2 separate regions of the Homo sapiens genome follow, and region 2 is linked to region 1. Evidence: promoter capture Hi-C in 16 types of primary human blood cells and fetal thymus (Javierre and others, 2016). All regions are on one chromosome and are shown on one strand. Each heading gives the region's core, a stretch centred on a gene start or on the middle of the fragment in contact. The rest is flanking DNA. Distances are from core to core; before and after follow the strand shown.

Evidence for each region. The method cuts DNA at HindIII sites, captures the fragments that hold promoters and counts their contacts. A CHiCAGO score of 5 or more calls a contact.
Region 2: a contact is called between the fragment with the promoter of KMT2A here and the fragment with the promoter of RPS25 in region 1, in 8 of 17 cell types (non-activated CD4 T cells, total CD4 T cells, naive CD8 T cells and 5 more). The highest score is 8.2, in non-activated CD4 T cells.

Annotation. Positions count from the first base shown.
Region 1 is chr11:119,016,486-119,019,788 of GRCh38, forward strand. RPS25 (ribosomal protein S25) reads right to left here and starts at 1,858. Exons shown (of 5, transcript NM_001028.3): 1 at 1,797-1,858; 2 at 1,473-1,568; 3 at 877-1,060. The coding sequence starts at 1,799. TRAPPC4 (trafficking protein particle complex subunit 4) reads left to right here and starts at 2,281. Exons shown (of 5, transcript NM_016146.6): 1 at 2,281-2,485; 2 at 2,658-2,832. The coding sequence starts at 2,311. RefSeq lists enhancers at 1,580-1,649, 1,670-1,899, 2,154-2,852 and a silencer at 2,140-2,259. The HindIII fragment of the contact is 1,015 bases long and covers 1,790-2,804 here.
Region 2 is chr11:118,434,686-118,437,988 of GRCh38, forward strand. KMT2A (lysine methyltransferase 2A) reads left to right here and starts at 1,807. Exons shown (of 36, transcript NM_001197104.2): 1 at 1,807-2,259. The coding sequence starts at 1,828. RefSeq lists enhancers at 779-1,776, 976-1,115, 1,777-2,775, 2,776-3,303 and a silencer at 1,426-1,905. The HindIII fragment of the contact is 8,732 bases long and covers 1-3,303 here.

The sequences.
Region 1 (3,303 bases), core at 608-3,107:
CTTTGGCCTCCCAAGTAGCTAGAAATACAAGGGTACCACTGCACCTGGCTCCAGAATTGCTTAATCTGACGTTCGGTAACCGAGAATCCTAGTTTTTAACGATCATCTATCCTTACTTTTCCTTTAAATTAGGGCTCCATTATCTTCCACCCCCCCCCCCTTTCTGAGACAGTCTTTTGCTGTCACTAAGGCTGGAGTGCAGTGGTGTCATCTCGGCTCACTGCCACCTCCATCTCCTGGGTTCAAGGGATCCTCATGCCTCAGCATCCTGAGTAGCTGGGATTACAGACGTGTGCCCCCACGTCCAGCTAACTTTCAGTAGAGCAGGTTTTCACCATATTGGCCAGGCTGGTCTTTAACTCCTGACCTCCGTTGATTCACCCGCCTTGGCCTCCCAAAGTGCTAGAATTATAGACGTTCAGTCACTATAGTTAGCTGAGCCTTATTATTGTGGAATTATGGTAATCAGACCATACTACTGAGTAGACCGTACTAAATTTCTGGTTTTAAAATTTAATACATCAACAAAATATTTACCATAAAGGTTTTAAACATTTTCAAAGTTGTTTCAAAATAGTAATCTAATTATTTCAAAAACGGTTGTCCCTGTAATTCTATGCATCCATTTACTCGAAACATAAAAGATCCTTGGGCTTCACTAAACTGCCACAGGGTCCACGGCACAAAAGTGGCTAAGAACCCTGAGAATTCATCTCAGGATCAGGAGTAAGACGTCAGAATTACATTACTAACAGCCAATGGTCAAGCCACGCTTTTTTTTTTTAATTCTGCTTTTCCAGCAAAACCACTGAAGATGCTTAACATGGTCAAGACAATTTAACCTACAAAAACACACATGTAGGATACACCCCTCACCTTTACTAAGGAGCTCCTGAAGGGCTGCCCTGGCCAGGGAGCCTCGAATCTTCAGTCTCTCAGAGACCACAGCTGGGGTTATAAGTTTATAGTTGGGAACTTCCTTACAGAGTTTATCATAGGTAGCTTTGTCAAACAAGACTAAGTTATTGAGCTTGTCCCGAACTTTGCCTTTGGACCACTTCTGCTCACCAAAACAAAACAGAAACAAGTTAGTATTTCTGGCAGAAGCACCCTTTCCCTCTCGAGTAATCTGCGTCAGAGAAATCTGTTCCACCGTTATCAAGGATAAATTACACATTACTAAAACAAAAACAAAAAAAAAACACCGACACGTTTTTGGCCTTCAAACAGGGGCCGAGCCCCACTAGATCAGTTAAAAATAACACAGCAGGCACAGCGGCAGACACTTCGCACAACAGACCCATTTTCATGATCCTAATGGGAAAAAGAACGAGTGGTGACGGGAAGATAAACTCTCACATTTTGACTCTAGAAATCTACACCTGAAAAACCACTTACTATACAAGTTACCTATTACTAGAGGATTACGAGAGAGTTACCCCTAGTCTCTTTCAGAGAGGTCTTATTTCTACCTTCTTTTTGGCCTTGCCCCCGGATTTGTTCACTGGGTCTTTGTCTTTCTTGGCCGACTTTCCAGCGTCCTTCTTCTTCTTGTCGTCCTTAGGCGGCTGTAGGAGGGCAGCGGGAATGCAACCAGGTCCTCAAATAGCGCCAAAGTCCCCTAATACTGCGCCCTCAGCCCCCGCAAACTCCACCACCAGAGCACATGGGCCAAGCAATAACCGCGCCCGCCCTGCAACCGAGGCCGGCAGGCCAAGGAGCGCTCCCGCCGAAGGCTCTCCCCACTGAGTCCTCAAACCCAAGAACGCCGGCGACTTCACACCCCTGAAGCTTACCATTGCGAAGCTCGGAGAATAGCAGCAGACACCGCAGCCTCGTCAAGATGTCGGACAAAAAGGAAGCGCTGCTCAGAAACGGGCCCAAAAACCACCGTCCGCTGTGAGTACTTCCGGGGCAAAAGGCGGAGCCAGGCAGAAGAAGTCCCACGGCGAAGCGCTCGCCCTCTAGCCTGAGGCGGAAGACAGGAAGTGGATTCTAGTTCCCAAGCCGCACCGCCTAAATACTGCCGGAGTCTGCGCTAGTTGTGACGCATACTATAGCGCTGTTTTCCTGCACTGATAAACGAAAAGCAATCCACCAGGTCTCGGCAGCTAACTTTCCGGCACTACTTATGCCCGAGCGTGTCGCTCCCAGTGCGCAAGTGCAGCAGGTGGCTGCACGGGGGGCGCGGGAGGAGGAGGAGGAGGAGGAGGAGGCTGGGGTGGGGCCGGCGGCAAGTGCTGTGATGCGGTTCCGGGGAGGGGCCGTCGGGTAGAGGCTGAATACCAGTTTCCGAGCGGCAAGGCAGCGATGGCGATTTTTAGTGTGTATGTGGTGAACAAAGCTGGCGGCTTGATTTACCAGTTGGACAGCTACGCGCCACGGGCTGAGGCTGAGAAAACTTTCAGTTATCCGCTGGATCTGCTGCTCAAGCTACACGATGAGCGTGTGTTGGTTGCTTTCGGCCAGCGGGACGGCATCCGAGGTGGGCTAGGCTCGGGCCCGTGGCGGGTGCGGGGGTGGGAGGGCCCCAGTGCTGTAGAAGTGGGCTGGTTGTAGGTGCGGGGTTGGGGGAAAAGGGGTTGTGTCGGGTCCCTTGTCCCCTCGGCGGAATCCCCGGGCTGCACCTTCGCTGACCGTTAGCTTCACCTCTGCAGTGGGTCATGCAGTGCTGGCCATCAATGGCATGGACGTGAATGGCAGGTACACGGCCGACGGGAAAGAGGTGCTGGAGTATCTGGGTAACCCTGCTAATTACCCGGTGTCCATTCGATTTGGCCGGCCCCGCCTCACTTCTAATGAGAAGCTTATGCTGGCCTCCATGTTCCACTCGTAAGTCCCCCGTCTCCTGAACGGCAGCGCTTGTAATTTGTCTACCTTTTCTTAAATCGTCGTTCTGGTGTTATGAAAAACGCAACCGATCCAGATCTAGATTTTAGGTAATAACGGCAGTGGTGTCATCTTTTTTTGCTGGGTGGGGAGGGGCCGCGGAGTTACCCAGGCTGGAGCGCAGTGGCGGGATCTCGGCTCACTGCAGCCTCTGCCTCCCAGGTTCAAGCGATTCTCCTGCCTCAGCCTCCCGAGTAGCTGGGATTACAGGCGCGTGCCACCACGACCAGCTAATTTTTGTATTTTTAGTAGAGAGGGGTTTTGCCATGTTGGCCAGGCTGGTCTCAAACTCCTGACCTCAGGTGATCCACCTGCCTCGGCTTCCCAAAGTGCTGGGATTACAGGAGTGAGCCACCGCGCCCGGCCGAGGTGTCATCTTACTTAAAGTCAACTTCTCTTCTCTGAGCCTTAGTT
Region 2 (3,303 bases), core at 557-3,056, 580 kb before region 1:
CCTTTTAGCATCTAGTAAACCACGCGCTGTAACAACGGAATCTTGTTCTGTGTATTGCGTTGTGCGAGTGTGCGCTTTGCAAACCATCTGGGCCCCATCCTGCGCGGTTGGAACGAAGATCGATTCGGGACGAGTTGGGGGAGTTGAGGCTTGCCTGTGTCTCCTCCCTTTCATTGCTCCTCTCCAGCCCCCATCCCATCGTCCGCTCTGCACAAATGTTTCGCCAGTGGAGGGACGTAGGTTTTCAGCACCAGGAGGCTGTGGACCTTCTCTGGAGGCGTGAAGTGCACCCTCCGGAGGGCCAGAGCTGAGTGCAACCTGCTCACAACGACCCTCTCCCTCCTTCCCAAATTCGCCGCCCCAGGCTGTAATATTACATGCAGTGCGCTGTACCGGTGCGGGAGTCCAGGAAGGCTGCATGACCTTCCAGCGAACTCCCCCTCGGCTTGGGGGATGGAGGCTGCCCCGGGGCCTGCAGGCTGTGTATCGATCCCCCAGCCTCAGCCAACGCAAGTTCTCCCGACACAAACCCCTCCCTACCCTCTCGGCTTTCCCAGCCTTGCAGGCGTCTAACGCTATGCTCGAGGCGCCCTCCCCTCTTTCCCGCAATAAAGTAAACCCGGTGGATATTCATTCCCCTCCCTAACTCGCCTCCTTCTTTCCCCCTCCCCCCTCAGCTTACTAACCCCGCGCACAGAGCTCGCCGCCGGCGGGCCCCTTCCACCCAGTGTATCATAATGCCCAACGCTCTCCTCCTCCCCCTCTCTTAATCAGAAACGTGCTCGCGAGCCCCCCTCCCTCTGCGTGCATACATTAGGGTCTGCTTTGCATGCAGCGGCAGGCAGAGACCGGAGGAAGAAGGGGCGGGGGCGCTTTTGCCCGCCTCTTCCCTCCAGGCCCCGTTAGCCACCCAGCTTCAGCTTCGTTGTAACACCGCGTCGTTAGCGGAGCACGCCGTGGCCTCAGTGCCCGGGCTGGAGAAACACAACCCAACTCCCTGCAGAAGGGCACGAAAGCCAGACGAGTGCACAGTAGAGCGAGGAGGTGGCAGGAGACCTGCCACTCGGTGTGTGCTTTTTGGAAAGAGCTCCAGCATGAAAATGGGAGGGGCTCCTTTTTTATTTTTTAAAGTGCGTTCATTGAGGGCCTTTCTGTTTTGCATATAGTAAACTGGGCAGCGCTTCTGTTTTGCATGTAGTACAATAAGGGCTCTTTTATTCTAGAAGCGTTCAATTCGGGCTAACCCATCTTGTATCCGTGCCCTGGGGCGGAGGAGAAGGCTCACTGCTCCCCGACCCAGCCGCCGCGTTATACTGGAAGCTGCTCTCCCGGGCTGTTCGATTCCCAGCGCGTCCCGGGAACGTGTGTAATCGGCCTCTCGGCGCTCAAGGCTGCAGGCGGCCCGGCTCCCTACGCCTCCATCCTCCGCGTAGTCCTCGCCCCCTCCCCCTCTCTCCGGAACCCGCGCTCTGCTCCGGGCTCCCGGGCTTCCTTCCCCCCTCCTTTTCCCGAGCAATGCCTCTCCCGGAGGGCGGGGCATGCAGTTATCCAGGTTGCGGGGCCGGCGGGCGGGCAGGAGGCGGCGGCCCGGGCCTCGGGATGGAGTTGCAGCGCCCAGGCGTCAGAGGCGGAGGCCCGAGGCCGCTATACAGATTGCGGGGCTGGCGGGCGCGGCCCGGCGCTCTGCATAGCGGCCGGCAGGGTGCAGGCGGCCGGGCGGCGCAGAGCTGGTTAGGCAGGTTCCGGGGCCCCGTGCCCCCCCCTCCGCCTCCCCGCCCCCCTGTGTTGTCGCCTCTCCCTCTCGCTGCTTCACTTCACGGGGCGAACATGGCGCACAGCTGTCGGTGGCGCTTCCCCGCCCGACCCGGGACCACCGGGGGCGGCGGCGGCGGGGGGCGCCGGGGCCTAGGGGGCGCCCCGCGGCAACGCGTCCCGGCCCTGCTGCTTCCCCCCGGGCCCCCGGTCGGCGGTGGCGGCCCCGGGGCGCCCCCCTCCCCCCCGGCTGTGGCGGCCGCGGCGGCGGCGGCGGGAAGCAGCGGGGCTGGGGTTCCAGGGGGAGCGGCCGCCGCCTCAGCAGCCTCCTCGTCGTCCGCCTCGTCTTCGTCTTCGTCATCGTCCTCAGCCTCTTCAGGGCCGGCCCTGCTCCGGGTGGGCCCGGGCTTCGACGCGGCGCTGCAGGTCTCGGCCGCCATCGGCACCAACCTGCGCCGGTTCCGGGCCGTGTTTGGGGAGAGCGGCGGGGGAGGCGGCAGCGGAGAGGTAAGGGGGCGAGGAACCCCCAGGTCCGGGGTCTCGACCCTCTGCGGAGCCCCCTCCCCTCCCCCATCCGGGATTGAGGAGCATCCCAATTCTGGGACCATCTCGGGGTCCCTGACCCGGGGCGAATGGCTCTCCCATCTTGGGACCCCCATGCAGGGCTGCAGACCCCCAGGCGCCCCCACCCCGGGGTTTGGGCCCATCTGGCTGAGGGCGTTTGCCCCCCGCTCTCCTCCCCCTGACCCTTCCCCAAATCCCTTGGCACAGACCCCCTCGCCGGGGTTTCCCATCCCGGGACTGAACCCCTCCTCCCTTTCACAGATTACCTCATCCGAGCAAGATTCCTCCCTCCCTCCCTCCTAGAGACCTGATCCCGCCACATCCCCGCCTCCCTCTCTGGGCAGATGTGTTACTCCTAGGGCAGTTTTCCTCTCGGGCGTCTCTCGGGTGATGGCCTCATCCAGGGCCACGTTCTCCTGGCCCTTGGGGATCGTGTCCCTTCCAGCACCTTGCTTTCGAAAACCCGATGAACCCTCGCGCCATCCCCGGGCCAGGTCCCTATACTGCCAGCCACTCCCCCTTCCTTCACCTCCACCCTCTACCCCCACCCCAAGCAGACCGATCCTCCCCCATCCCGCCCTACCCCACCGGGGAAAATCTCTCCTCTGCACCTTGCCTGGTCTCACCTCCTTTCCCTCTGAAGATAACGGTGATTCCTCATACAGCAGTCTCTTCCCCCCCCCGCCCCGTCTTACAGGGCTACAGTTTCTAGCCTATTGGTAGCCGGGAATTACTCTACCTTCACTCCACCCTTTCCCTCCTTTAGAATGAAGGATTAGTGGCATCTTGGAGGGGAAAATAGTCCACTGTCCCCTAGGCTTAGAGAAGAGCAGCTTTCCACCACTCCCCTTGGAGAGGAGGCAGGCTTTCCCTCCAGCTCTGGGGAAGGGGGCCCCTGTGAGGGGAGGTGTTTGTTGGGGGACTGAGGCAGCATCCTCCCAGGGGAAGCAGCTGCTCTCCTACCCCACCCACTGCGCCTGAGAGCAC